Regions from separate parts of the Homo sapiens genome. Here region 2 is linked to region 1. The links are contacts of gene promoters, found by promoter capture Hi-C in blood cells and fetal thymus (Javierre and others, 2016). All regions are on one chromosome and are shown on one strand. The core of a region is centred on a gene start or on the middle of the fragment in contact, and the rest is flanking DNA. Distances in the headings are between cores, read along the strand shown.

The links. Contacts are between HindIII fragments. The CHiCAGO score rates a contact against its expected background, and 5 or more counts as called.
Region 2: a contact is called between a fragment that was not itself captured here and the fragment with the promoter of DUSP18 in region 1, in 1 of 17 cell types (endothelial precursors). The highest score is 8.0, in endothelial precursors.

What each region holds. Positions count from the first base shown.
Region 1 is chr22:30,665,176-30,672,668 of GRCh38, reverse strand. DUSP18 (dual specificity phosphatase 18) reads left to right here and starts at 4,794. Exons shown (of 2, transcript NM_152511.5): 1 at 4,794-5,207. It also overlaps a transcript of SLC35E4 not described here. RefSeq lists an enhancer at 4,307-4,696. The HindIII fragment of the contact is 6,661 bases long and covers 1,209-7,493 here.
Region 2 is chr22:30,906,202-30,913,694 of GRCh38, reverse strand. It overlaps LOC107985544 (a long non-coding RNA gene), which reads left to right. Exons shown (of 3, transcript NR_146603.1): 2 at 2,264-2,397. OSBP2 (oxysterol binding protein 2) reads right to left here. Exons shown (of 14, transcript NM_030758.4): 14 at 5,882-7,493. The coding sequence ends at 7,356. Among named protein-coding and RNA genes, the nearest start is that of MORC2-AS1, 12 kb to the left of the region's middle. The HindIII fragment of the contact is 788 bases long and covers 3,686-4,473 here.

The DNA.
Region 1 (7,493 bases), core at 3,545-6,044:
GGTCACACAAAGCTGGCCTGCCCATCTAGTTCCACTACATCCCACCATTGGAAGTTTAGCAGAGGCAGAAATGCCCAGGTCTCTGCTCTGCTTTTGTCTTTGTGACCTTCAAGAGGATCTGGCACCATCTCTTAAGGATCTCCAACTGTTTTTGATGTTAGAATCCTGTGGGCCCATCCAGACTTGACCCTGGAACATGGAGAGAAGTCAACAGAGTCAAGAAGGGGCAGAAGCTCAACCCTGGGCTTCCTGCTCTGTTTGAAAAAATGAGTATGTTATTGGTGTCCATCTTTTTCATGTGTCTCTTCCTAGCACCCAACACAGTAGCTGTCCCAAGCAGGCCCTAAGGACAGGTTTAATGAGTTCATCAATTAGGGTCTATGGGAACAGTAGGTGACAGCACTCAGGCTTTTGAGTAAGCCTGAGTCAAACTCTTACCTGTCCATAAGCAAAAAGTGGGAGAAGAGCCTCAGTTCTCATCTGGAAAATGGGGATAATCCCCAAAGGAAAAAACTGACAAGATGCTGTTAATGCTGATTCAAACTCTAGGACCCAAGACCTTAGTTTTTTGGGGGTTTTATTTATTTATTTTTGCTTGTTTGTTTTTTTGTTTTTGTTTTTTTTTTTGAGACGGAGTCTTGCTCTGTTGCCCAGGCTGGAGTACTATCACAGCTCACTGCAACCTTCACCACCCGGTTCAAGCAATGCTCATGTCTCAGCCTCTCATGTAGCTGGTATTACAGGCACCCACCACCATGCCCAGATCAGTTTTGTATTTTTAGTAGAGACGGGGCTTCGCCACATTGACTAGGCTGATTTCAAACTCCTAACCTCAAGTGACCGTCCTGCCTCCCACAAAGTGCTGGGATTACAGGCATGAGCCACCGCGCCCAGCCTAGAACCCAAGACTTTGTATGGGAGAAAATAAGAATCCATTCATGGGTTCCCTAGAGAGATAATGTGCTTTCAGGAAAAACAAAAACAAAAACAAAACCAAGAGACATGGAGTCTTTCTAGCCTCCTTAGCCTAGGAACAGGTGTGACACCTTGGGCAAGTCAGTAACCCTGAGTGTGAATTGCCTCCTCTGTAAAACGGGGCCTGCCTTAGAGCACCTTGGGGACTTCCTATCACCTTTATGATCCCCCAGGATATAGAGAGAATGAAATGAATATGGGTCAAGCCACTAACACCCTCTAATGCAAAAGCTTGTGGCTACTTTACCTGCACCTCATGGAGTCGTTGTGCTATGAGCTTGTCATAAAAACCCACCCAAGATAAACTGCTCTTTTTATATGAGTAAAAAATTTTTCACTGCTGCTTCACTGGAATCATTAAGCTGGAGCGGGGAGGGAAAGGTGACACAGGTTACAGATGGCTGAGGCCAGGGCCAGAGCAGATTTGACAGGGTCCTGGGGGAGTGGCTGAGGCTTCCCCGGGTATCTTAGGACAAGTGCAGCTCTGTTACAATTTTCAGAGAAGCAAGGGAGTAACCACAGTTTCTTCTTGTGGAAAGATATGCTAAAGGGGTGTTTCATGGACACCCAGAAGAAAAGCAATTCTGTGTTTGTAAAAGGGCCCCAGTGCAGTCCACAAGAGAAGGGTTATCAGGAACTCAGAACCATCTTCCAAAGCAGTCTTTTGTTTTTTTGAGATGGAGTTTCATTCTGTCTCCCAGGCTGGAATGCAGTGGCACAATCTCGGCTCACTGCAACCTCCACCTCCCGGGTTCAAGCGATTCTCCTGCCTCAGCCTCCCGAGCAGCTAGGATTACAGGCATGCGCCACCACACCTGGCTAATTTTTGTATTTTTAGTAGAGACGGGGTTTCACCATGTTGGCCAGGCTAGTCTCGAACTCCTGACCTCAAGAGATATGCCTGCCTTGGGCTCCCAAAGTGGTAGGATTACATGCGTGAGAGCCACCATGCCCACCCAGCCAAAAGCAGTCATCTTGATGATCCTTCTTAAGGATGAAATGGGAGAGAGGGGTCTTAGAGGGGAGGAGTAAAAGTTGTAGAGTAGGGTTCGAAGGATGAATTTGAGAGGTGTTTAGCTTGGGGAGCACTTGCTCTAGACCCTGTGCCTAAAGGGGATCTGGGAGGCGGGGGCTTGGGGGAGTATAGATCAGAGCAGGGAGAAATAAAAGTAAGAGTTTGGACAGATGTTAGGCTGGTTAATAGGGGAATTCCAGAAGAAGGTTTGGGGAAAATTTAGAATAGGGAGGTGTGGGGTGGACAGGGGTTTTAGGAGACTCTGAAAGGTGAGGTGAAACATGGGGTGGGGTGGGGTAGAATGGAGCTAGGTACTCCAGGTGAAAATATAACAATCTGGTCAAAATGAGGAAATGCTGAAGAGTGGATATACTTCTAAGCACTGCATTTTCACTTTTTGATAATTTGGTTACACCATGAAGTAGTCTTACAAATAAATACCTTTAAATGGTTTTGCCCATTTAAAAATAATTCTTCAGGATCAGGCACAGTGGCTGAGGCCTATAATCCCAGCACTTTGGGAGGCCAAGGTGGGCAGATCACTTGAGGTCAGGAGTTCGAGACCAGCCTGGCCAACATGGTGAAACCCCATCTCTACTAAAAATACAAAAATTAGCCGGGTGTAGTGGTGAGCACCTGTAATCCCAGCTAATCAGGAGGCTAAGGCAGGAGAATCACTGGAACCCAGGAGGCAGAGGTTGCAGTGAGCCAAGACTGTGCCACTGCACTCGGGCCTGGGCCACAGAGCTAGACTCTGTCTCAAAAAAAAAATTGTTCATATTTTCTTTCTAAAATGCGGAAACAAAATCTACAGTATGGAAGCAATTGAATAAATTTTGGTATGTCATAAAATAAAATACATGTAATTGTGTATGAAACATAGACGGGTGGTATATTAGATGGGAGAAAAAAGCAGGTTACTAAAAAGTGAACTTTTGTGATGTATCTTTTTTAAGTATAAGCATGTTGTAACATATATATATATATATATATATATATATATGAATGGATTCTGATCAAAATACACCAAAATGTTAACAGTGATTGTCCCTAGCCACTTATGCTGCTGGCCTGTCTTGTCTTCTTTTTATTTCTTCGAGACGGGGTCTCACTCTGTCCCCCAGGTTGGAGAGTAGTGGCACAATCTCAGCTCACTGCAACCTCCACATCCCAGGCTCAAGTGATCCTCCCACCTCAGCCTCCTGAGTAACTGGGACCACAGGTGAGCCACCAAGCCCGGCTAATTTTTTGTATTTTTGGTAGAGATGGGGTTTCACCCTGTTGCCCAGGCTGGTCTCGAACTCCTGAGCTCAGGTGATCCAACTGCCTCAGCGTTTCAAAGTGAAGTGGTGGGAATACAAGCGTGAGCCACCATGCCTGTCCTCATTTTTCTATAAGTGTACACTACTTTTATAATTGGGTCAAAAAAGACAACTGTAGAAGGATAAAAAATATTGAAGGACTAGTTTTTCTAATGCATTTTCAGCCTATTTGGAACTGGAGTGTTGTGAATGTTTTCATATTTACAAACTAGTATGAACAATCCAACTTCTCAATCTCTCATTTACATTTTTCTGACCTCTATGCATAGCCTAGGTGTGAGGTGATGGAAAAAGCTGGTTTAGAGATCAAGATGCTCAAACACAAAAGTCCCCCAAATCCTGAGAGTTTTTTGTTTTTTTAAAAAAATCCTTAAAACATTTAAAGACGCATAAAACTCTTCACCCACTCAGTGGTGCAAAAAATTTACCAATACTAGAAGGGGAGGAGGCTGGCAACGACTGGAAATATTCCCTTTCAAGTAATAAATAATGGTTATTTTGAACCAAATTGCTTTCCACCTCAAGTCCTCCATGGATGGGAGCCTGGAGGATGCAGTGATGGGGGTTATGGAATGGAAAGGAGCGTGGGTAATTGGGTTTGTGAGGATTGGGGCCAGGCAGAGGGAACTGGGGGCTTTTCCAGGACCACTGGGGAACACAGAGGCTGAGAAGGGGAGTGTGGGATGGGTTCGAGCTGGGGAGGACCTCGGCCTCGCCAGGCTCTAAGGAGAGTCACAGCTCACCACCTAGGGCGCTGGGACCACACGATGTCATGCCTGGGAGACTGAAGGGCTAGGACAGATTCTGAGAAAATGTGGACTGGAGATGGGGATTCCAGGTTCTCCCGGGAGTCCAGGCGAGGGAGTTCCGGCTTCAGGGAGTCCCAAGAGCTAGACTGGGAAGGGGCTGGTGCCCAGGACTATGAGAAATCCAGACTCCCCTGGGGTGTGAAAAAGGGCCGAGGTCCGGCTGAGGGAGAGCGAGTCTGAAAGAGTTCGGGCTCCCTTGCGGGTCCGAGAGTCTAACGAAGGCTCTGGGCACCCAGGCCGCACCTGAAGAGCACCAACGACTGCTCGGTCCGCGGCGCGGGAAGGAGATGTGCGGCTGAACCCCTACGCCGATTACTTAGCGGCGGCCCTATCGAGAGGGTGGTTCGAGCCCGAGGTGGCGCCGGTCCCGTAAATCGTGGAGGATCTCAGGTCCCCTGTGACCAAGGGCGTAGTCAGCTGTGTCATGGCGGCTTCCCTGTTCGAGAAACAGTTGGAAACTGGAGGCCGGTTGGGAGTCATGGTCGTTGGGCGCACGGAGGCCGGTTGGAAGCCATGGTCGTTGGGCGCCAGGAGGCCGGTTGAGAGCCGTGCTCGTTGGACGCGCGCAGACCTGGAGTTAGTCCCTGGGCGGAACCTGGAGCCCCGCGCGGCGCGTTGCCTGGGAGACGCATAAGGGGGCGGGGCCGGGGAGGGAGTGTCGCACATGCGCACAGAGCCCGGGCGGCTACGGAAGCGGTGAGACTGTCTCTCGGCTGCAGCCCTGGTGCGACCCGGCCCGTTGCCGTAGAGATGGGCAGGGCTGGATGGAGTGGGGTGCGGTGAGCTGAGCTGACCCTGCTTCGCCACGGGGACTGCAGTGACCCCGGCTTGCCGGCAGGGCGGGTAACAGGTTGAGCCAGGGTGGGGCTGCTCAGGGGCGTGGAGCCGAGGCCAGGATTTCTCTGAAGACCCGGCACAGGCTATTCCTTTCTGCGACGAGCCCATTGCTATGGAAACCAAAGCGTTAGGCCAGCGGGGATTGAGGCTGCGGGATCATGACGGGTCTCTCTCCCGAAGAACCTTGCCTAAGGCTTCCCCAAGCGGCTACTTCCTGAGCGAACCCGCCCACCCGCCTGAAGGAGAGAGGTAAAACCCTGGGGGTCCTGACACTAAGCAGGCGAAGAAGCCTATTCCAATGCCAGCTCCCCTAGGAAACCTACCCGGCCCACCCCTAGAAGTGATGCTTCGCTCTCGTTAACTCTTGGACTTTGTTCCATGTTTATAACTTAGTATTTCACGAACGCCCCGCGGTGTTTGTTCATTTTTCCCACACATAATGGACCATAAAGGTCGGCTTCTTTGCTTTATGACTCGTTCTGAACAAGTCCTTTTCCGCGCTGTGTCTCACTTTCCTCTTTTGTAAAATGGAAATATTAACTCTAGACGCCGGTCTGATTAGGTTGCTTTGAAGATCGAACCAGATGAGGGAAGCCAAATACTTCATAGGCTGTAAAGTGGTGAAGCTGAACTGCTACCGAGTTGCTATTTTTTTCTCCTCCTCCCTCTCAAGCTAAACGTTCTTTAGATCTTTTGTGATTTCTTCAGGTGGTCTTTGCGACTCCCTAGGCTCCGACCTGGAAGAAATCTTTTTTACACTTCCCTTTCACAGAGCCCTGCATTTTAACTTCCCTATCAGAAGCGAGAAAAATAGTTATCATTTTGAGAGGGCTTACTCTATGCCAAGCCCTGAGAAAACTCTTTACGTGGATTATCTCGTTTAATTTCACAACATCCTTTTAAGGTAGGTACTGTTATCCTATTTTCAAGCTCTGTCTGCCTGTAATTGCCTGTTTACTATCTGTTTCTCCCACTAGTCTTTGAGCTCCCTGAGAAAAGGGGCCATGCCTGTCTTGTACATTTCAGTATCTCCAACACCTAATACAGTGCCTGATAGAGATTGCTTTTTTTTTTTTTTTTTTTTTTTTTGAGATGGAGTCTCACGCTGTCTCCCAGGCTGGAGTGCAGTGGCACGATCTTGGCTCACTGCAGCCTCCGCCTCCCGGGTTCAAGCAATTCTCCCGTCTCAGCCTCCTGAGTAGCTGGGACTACAGGCCCATGCCACCACGCCTGGCTAATTTTTGTATTTTTAGTAGAGACGGGGGTTTCACCATGTTGGTCAGGCTGGTCTTGAACTCCTGACCTCAGGTGATCTGCCCGCCTCGGCCTTCCAAAGTGCTGGGATTATAGGCTTAAGCCACCGTGCCCAGCCCTGATAGATATTTCTTAACTAGCATGAAAATGACTCCTCGCATCACTACCCTCACCTGCAAGAGCATTGTCACTTCTGCAGACTTTTAGTGGCTATAATGAACAGCACATTCCTCTATTCCCGTTACCCACTGGGCACTGGTTTGGGGGGACATCAGTTCACTTCTCTATGGATTTTCTGATGACGAGGATCCAGAACATTCCTTAGCATTTAGACTTCCATCTGGGTTCAGGAGGCTTTTTCTTTGCCCTTCATATCACCTCTGTAGCAAGCCAGCCCTCTCTGTCCTTCCGGGAATGAGCCTGATGCATTTGAGTCTGGGGCATTGGCAGGTAGGATTTGCCTATACAACCTTTGGTCTTTCTCTTTAGTAGCCTCAGAACCACCCCCATCCCCACCCAGCCCCTCCCTGGAATTCTGGAGACACGCTGCCAGAGAACTCATTCTTTCCAGAAAACCTCTCAGAAGGCAGAGTCATAGCTGTTGGGAGTCATTTCTTCATTCAACAAATATTTATCAAGCACCTACTTGTGGGGACACAGCGCTTGGCACTAGTTGGTGATAGAGTGGGAGTGAAGACAGACACCATCATATCCCTAAAGGGCTCACAGTCTCTTGGGGAGACAGACATTAATCAAATAATCAGACAGATCGGAGCAAAACTACGTCTTCAGTAAGTGTTAGGAAGGAGAGAACATAGGGCTAAGAAAGCCTGGAGCAGAGTTGGTCAAACGTGAGGGAGGGGTGTGATCTAAGGAGATTTCCCTTAAAACAGTTACCTTTAAGTTGATATCTTAAGGCTCCTCAGACTTCTGCAGTCCTCTGCTGAATGGACCAGATCAGGATCTGATGGGTTCATAAGGAAAGAGACTGAGAGATCAGCAGGGGCAAAGGCCACTGGCTGGAGAGGACAGGTTGTCCCTAAGGAACTGTAAGTGGCTCGGTTCACCTGAGGCCCTTCAGAGCATGGAGAAGCCTAATAAGAGGCTGGAGAGACAGGCAGGAGCCAGGTCACAAATGGCCTTGACAGCCAAACTAAGTGGCTCCATCTTATCCTCACAGTGGATAGCCACTGAAATATATTAAGCAGGGAAACAAAACTTTGGCTCCTCATTTCTCGTGCCTGGTGAAGACTGCCACTTGGCCTTGAAAGGTGTGATCTA
Region 2 (7,493 bases), core at 2,830-5,329, 240 kb before region 1:
ATTTTGTTTTTGTATTTTTAGTAGAGAGGGGTTTCACTGTGTTAGCCAGGATGGTCTCGATCTCCTGACCTCGTGATCCACCCGCCTCGGCCTCCCAAAGTGCTGGGATTACAGGCGTGAGCCACTGCACCCGGCCCAACCTCAGCTTTCTTCGTTCTTTTTATTATTGCCCTATTTAATGAATATCTGATATTTGATCTTTATTTTCATTCTTGTCCTTTTCTTTCTTTTTTCTGTTTTTCTTTTTTTTTGAGACAGAGTCTTGCTCTGTCGCCCAGGCTGGAGTGCAGAGTCGCGATCTCGGCTCACTGCAAGCTCCGCCTCCCAGGTTCACGCCATTCTCCTGCCTCAGCCACCCGAGTAGCTGGGACTACAGGTGCCCACCAACACGCCCGGCTAATTTTTTGTATATTTTTTAGTAGAGACGGGGTTTCACCGTGTTTGCCAGGATAGTCTCGATCTCCTGACCTCGTGATCCGCCCACCTCGGCCTCCCAAAGTGCTGGGATTACAGGCGTGAGCCACCTCGCCCGGCCCATTCTTGTCCTTTTCTTGAGTTTTTTCTAATGTTCATTTTCTTACTCAAATTGGATGTTTAAAAATTTTTTAGTCTTTTACATGAGTCTTAAATGTTGTAAATTTTCCTCAAGGTACTGCTTTACCTGTATTCTGTATGTTTTAATATATAGTTTTTTTTAACTGTATTTTCTGATTTCTGTTGTTTTCTTCATTGACCTATGAGTTATTTCAAAATATATTTCTTAATGTTCTAGCCTGTATTTTCCTCCCAGTTTTATTTTTGTCATTGATTTTGAACTGTCTTCATTGCAGTCTGAGAATGTGGTCCTTTGAAATTTGCTGAGGCCTTATGACTGGATTAAATATATGGTTAATGTTCATAAAAGTTCCATGTGCATTTCAAAAATATGTATTCTGCAGTCACATTTAATTCCCTATATGTGTCCATGACATCAAGTTTGTTAATTACATAGTAATTAACATAATTTGTTGTCTGAGCTCTAATTACTGGGAGAAATAAATTACAATCTTCCATTATGATAGTGGATTTATCTTTATCCATTTTACTTTATACATTTTGAGATGTTATTAGGTGCATAAGAGTTTTAGAAATTTATGAGTTTTACCTTCTATCACTACAAAATGACCTTAAAATTCTAGTAGTTGACATCTAGTAATATTTTTTGCCCTAGAGTCTGTTTAGTTTATATATTTATGTTTTAGGTGTATTCTTGTAAATAGCATATAGCTGGATTTTATTTTTAGTCCATATTTTTTTCTTTGAAGCATTTAGATTACTTAAATTTTATGTAATTACTGATGTATTATTGATGTATTTGTATTCTCTTATTTGTGATTTTTATTCTACATTCTTTTTTCCTCTCCTCTCTTGCCTTCTTTAGATTTACTGAGCTTTTTCCCCCCTGCATTCAATGTGTTTCTTCTACTGCTTTGGAAATAATTTAGTATTGCTATTCCTTCAATGATTACCTGATAAGTTTTACATAATCTTAACTCATCATAGTCTCACTCCACATGACACTATATATTTTTTTTAAAAAAATTTAATATACTGTTTAATATGCTAAATAAAATTTAGTTATACACACATACACACACACACACACACACACACACACACACACATATATATAGAGAGAGAGATAGAGACAGAGACAGACAGAGACAGGATGATTGTGTAGCTCACTGCAGTCTCGAACTTCTAGGCTCAAGTTATCCTCCCTCCTCAGCCTCCCAAGTAGCTGGGACTACAGGCATATGCCACCATGCCTGGTTAATTATTTTATTTTTGTAGAGATGGAGTCTTGCTATATTGCCCAGGCTGTTCTCAAATTCCTGACCTCAAGTGATCATTCCACCTTGGCCTCCCCAAGTGTTGGGATTATAGGCATAAACCACCACACGTGACCTGTGGAAAAGATATTTTGACTGAGGAGAACACTAACATTTTCTTCTCTATTTTGGAGGTAATACTTCATTGTCTTCTGACTTCCTTTGGAGGCTCTCAGTCTAATCTGTTCTCGGTCTAATTGGCCTTCCTTTGGAGATGAATTTTCAGGATCTCACTCTGTTGCTTGGGCTGGAGTGCAGTGATGTGATCATAGCTCACTGCAGCCTCAAATTCTTGGGCTCAAGCAATCCTCCAGCCTCAGTCTCCTGGGAAGCTAGGACTACAGACACATACCACTTTGCCTAATTTAGTTTTTATTTTTATTTTTTTGTAGAGATGGGGTCTCTTCTGTTTTCCCATGATGGTCTCCAACTGCTGGTCTCAAGTGATCCTTCTGCCTCAGCCTCCCAAAGTGCTGGTATGACAGGTGTGAGCCACTGTACCCAGCCTAATTTATGCTGTTTGAAGGTAATTTAAAAAAATCTGCTTGTAAGATTTTGTTGTCTTAGTAATCTTGCAGTTTCACTATGTTGTATTTAGCTGTGGATATCTTTTTATTTACCATAATTAGGATTTGTTGAGCTTAACTTTGTATATTGGTGCTTTTCATGATTTCTTGAAAAACTTTTAGCCATAACTCTTCCAAGATTGCTTCTGTTCCATAAAAAATTCTTTTCTCCTTCTGAAATAGATCAGACATATGTGGGATCTTATCTTTCATGTCTTAACGTCCCTTTGATATTTTTCACCTCTTTGTGTCTCTGTGTTGTATTCCAAATTTCTTCAGATCTCACTTCTGCTTCACTAATACTCTCTTCAGCTGTGTAATCTGTTGTAAAACTATTCACTGAATTATTTTTAGTGATTTTAAAACATTTTCTTGAAATTTGTTTAGTATTTTTGAATATTTACTCTTCACTTATTTTCAAGCTGCCTTTCTGTTTCTAGAAATATATTAAACATGCTTATTTTCTCTTCTGTATCTGATAATTTTGCTGTGTGGAAGAGTTTTCTGTCTGATTCTGCTATCTGTTATTTCTGGTTGCCCTTGCTCATGGGTGCTTGTTTCCTTGTGTGTTTGGAGATTTTATACTGTGAGCTGCTCATTTTCCCTGCAGTTTCATATCTGAGGTTCTCTAAGGCCTAGAATGAAGGGGATATCTTCCAGAGAGGACTTGTTTGCTTCCCCCAGGTGACTGGGAACATTGCCAACTTCGGACCATGTTACGTTCTCTGTCAGAGGTTTCATTGAGCCATTCAGGTAGTGTGTATTTGGGCTGCAAAACTAACTGAGGGTCCACTCCTGATTACAAATTCTTAGGGGGATTTTGTTTTTCTCTGCTCAGGACCAACCTTTAAGACAAGTGATTTTTCTTGTATTTTATTTTGGATTCACCATTACATTGAAGGTATAGCCCTTGGGGGCCCCAAATTTCCTATTATATGCCCTACCTTTGGAGGCTCTTTTGAGGCAGTGAAAACTTACAGTTAAGCTCATTGGGCTTTGTAAATAATTGCAACATAAAATATTTCAGACCTTTTCTTACCTCTCCAGGTTTTCATACCCACTTAGTTTTTGGCTTGAGTATTCCTCATATTGTTTCCAGTTGATAGATGCATTTAACATTTAAAAAATTTTATCCAACCTGTCTAGTTTTCCACAAAGGAGTATTTTCTGGGAACCTAGTTTACCATATTGCCAGAAGAAGAAATCCTTCGACTGGCTGATGTAATGAATGATTTACCATGGAAAGCTTCACAACATTGAGCCATTTTCATTCTTGCATTTCTGCAGTAAACCTAATTTGGGCATGGGCTTACCAACTTGGGGTTCAGTCTTTTCTATGTGGCTAGATTCTATTTGCTGTTCTCTTGTTTGGATTTATGAAAATTCTTTTCTTCCATGAGACCGAACTATATATTCCCTTTATTTTCACACTGTCTTTATTAGGCTTTGTTGCTGAAGTTATGCATGCTGGCTAGCTTCATAAAAACAATAACTTAAATAGCATTGAGTTTGTCTCTTGTCCTGTTCTCTGTTCCACTTTGAAATGTGTCTCTCCGTTGTCCTCTCCTCCCAACTCCCTTCATGCTGAGCCATGTCCCTGGAGATGAGAGAACCTCAGGCCTTCTCTTCCCCACTTACAGAATCTGACTCCTACCCCACAGTCTGTCAGGAGCAGCAATTTGAACTCTAGAGTTTGGGGGAGGCAGGAGTTTCCTGGGTCCCTGGGCTCAGCTCTTCACCAGTTCCATTTCTGAGTCTCCTCCCAACTTGGTACTGCAGTCACGCCCCCCACTGCTCAGGTGTTGTCCCACTGAGCGTTTGCTTTAGCTGGTCTTCCTGGCCTGGTGTTGATTCTTTCGACAGCTATTCATTGAGCACTGACTATGTGCCAGGCAGTGGGATGCTACAACGTATAAGATCATGAAGCTCACAGTCTCATGAAGCTCAGTCCATTGGGGTAGGGAGGGCAGACCATCAACAAATACACTGCATGGCAGCCAGATGGTGATCAGAGAGCAGTGGAGAAAAAGGAAGCTTTGTGTCCCCAGGAGGCTTCCAGCTTGTTTGGGCATCTGCAGGTCAAGTCCACATAGTCCCCTCATCGTCCCCTGAGTTCTTGCTGGAGTGCAGTGGTGCGATCTCCACTCACTGCAGCCTCCGCCTCCCAGGTTCAAGCGATTCTCTGCCTCAGCCTCCCAACTAGCTGGGATTACAGGTGTGCGCCACCATACCCTGCTAATTTTTGTATTCTTAGTAGAGACGGGGTTTTGCCATGTTGGCCAGGCTGGTCTCAAACTCCTGGCCTCAAGTGATCTGTCCGCCTTGGCCTCCTAAAGTGCTGGGATAACAGGCGTGAGCCACTGCACCTGGCCCTATTTTTTTTTTTTTTAATTATTCTCTCATATAAATGTCACAATCAACTTGTCAAGCTTTTGAACTATATTGGTAGGATTTTAATAGGGATCATGTTGAATTTGTAGGTTTGGGACTAACATAACTGAATGTGAACCTAGCTATGAAGATGTATTTTCCCTCTTAACTCAGGTCCTCTCTGTCATGTCCATAAAGGTCTTTCACCTTGTGGTTTTGTGTCTTTTTGTCAGATGGCCTATGTCGTAGATCTTTTTTTCTATTACATTTTCTATTCAGTGATGGCTGGTGTATGTGAGACCACTGAGTGTAGGTTGATCTTGTGTCCTGCTGGTCAGAGTGGTCTTTCTAAAACATTGCCCTGATGTCAATTTCTGTTCAAGCTCTTCAGAGCCCTCTCTTTGCCTCAGTAGACTGGCCTTTGTCCCCTCCCTTGCCCTCTGGGTCAGGTGCATCCTGAAGTTCCGCCTCACCTCTATTCCAGTGAGACCTGCCCCACCAGCTCCTCAGCCGGGACCCCCCGCCAGCGGCCACCTCCCCACAGATGGGGAAGCCTAGCCAGGGAAGGAGCTGTGCAGGGCCAGCCCCAGATCCCACAGGGCTGGGGTTGGAGGCAGATGGTGAGAGCGCTGGCCCTGATGCCCCTGGGGTGCCCTGCTCTACCCATCCCTCACCTGGAAGTGCAGCCCAGGCTGCTGCTGTCAAGTGATATGGAACTCACCAGGACTGGCCTTCCCCCTGGAGGCCTCCCACTAGACAGCTCCAGGAACTGAAACACGGGAGGGGGCTGCTGGTGGTCTCCACCTGGCTAAAGCACTGCCCTTCCAAAGAGCAGAGCTAGGTCCAGGCCAGCCCTGTGGCCGCAGCATCAGGGCAGCCTTTGGCAGAGCTGCGACCCTCTCCCCAGCCCTTTGGGCAGTTTCCTGGGTCTCCTACCTCCTCTGTTCCCCTGACCCCCCTGCTGTTTCACCCCATGCTCTACCCCCATGCCACCTTGTAGGCTATCACCTGTCCTTCTACATTAGTCCCCTCCACCCAGATACACAGAGACTGAGGGACAGGGCAGTGGAAAACTCCAAAGCCAAGGTTTTTTATTACTGGTCAAAAGGTGCTCGCTAACAAAACAGTGTTGGGGAGAGGTACATTCCACAGCTCTGTAGGAGCCCCAGTGGGGCCATCCTGCCCCACCCCGCCCCGCCTCTCCAGTGGGCATTGTAAGGCATTTCACACATTGGTGTTTTCACTTTTTTTTTTTATATATATAAAAACAAAACCAGTCCTGGAGTAGAAAGAAAGACCCTGTGATGAACTTTTAGGACTAAACTGAAATGGAAAGGATTGGAGTGTGGGATTCTGAGGGGCTGGGTCAGTGGCCATGGTGGTCCAGCCCCCCATGGTTGGCAGAAGCCGCTGGAAGGGGGCATGAGGAGAGGGAAGGGCACAGCTCACATGAGGGCCAAACTCAGACAGGTGCACCCGTCTTCATCATTTTTTCACTTTTACATACTGTAGAAATTTAAGCAAAATAGCTATTTTATATATATTTATATATCTCATATATATATATATAAATTAGGCAAATAAAGAGTTCAGGGGACACTGAGATGGGGCACCCCTAGGGGCCTCCTAGGATGAGGAGGGATGCAAGGTCTCTGGTGCCCAGGTCACCAGCCCAGGCTGGGCCAAGGGTTTGTTCATTATTGCTGATTTGGGGCCTGGGTCTCAGGGCGGGGAGCACCTGCAGGCCCTGCCTTCCAGCCCTTCCTGGCCTCTTGGGGCTAGGGAGCCACCCAGGCTGGCTAGGGTGAGGCCAGGGACTGCTGCCCTCAAATCCACATGGGGGTTACCATCAGTACCCCCTCCTGCATCTGTGGATGGGAGCTCCAGAAACTCTGTGCTCTGCTGGGCTGGGGCAGCCCCCTTCTGTTTTGGGCTCTGTGGGGCCTTGGCAGGTGGGGGTGTGGGCAGCTCAGATACCATCGAGGACTTGATATGTTGAGCTACAAAATTCTCCCAACTCAAAGCGGTCTGGCTTCCTGATGTCTTAAAAATAAGGGGCTCTTGCCAGGACACTTTTGTGGCAAGAAAGCACACTTGGAAAGCTGTCTGCTAAGTGCGGTACTAAAAATATTTACTAAACATCATGGCTGGAAAGAAATGGAGATCATTTTTCTAAAAAAGTCGAAGAGGCTCCCTAGGAGGGGCCAGTTCCTCCCTGGGTTGGGGGCTGGTGATTTGCGCAGCCCATGGCCCGGGCCAGCCGGCCTGAGTTGTGGTAACTGGGGCAGGGGTTCCGGTAGGGCCCAGGTCCATAATGAAGGGGCACGGGTGACCCGGCGCACCTGGGGGCTGGAGAGAACCCAGGTCAGCCCTTCCTCCTTCCAAGGTGGGAGTCCCAAGAAAGTGTGGGGAGAAAAAAAAAATAGGAAAGGAAATAGGAAGGGCTGGGAATGGGCTGGGAGAAAGACCATTCAGTACTAAATTGAGTGCATTAATGAACAGGTGGGCCAGGCTGTGCAGGCGCCTGTATTTGTTGCAAGGGTGGCGCTCAGAAGATGTTGGGGCACATATGCCAGTCTTGCTTCTCCTTGGCCTCCCAGTAGCCGCCCTTGTACACACAGGCCATCTCCCCGGTCAGCGGATCCAGCCTCTTCTCAAACCACAGTGGCGTGTAGGCATCCGCCTC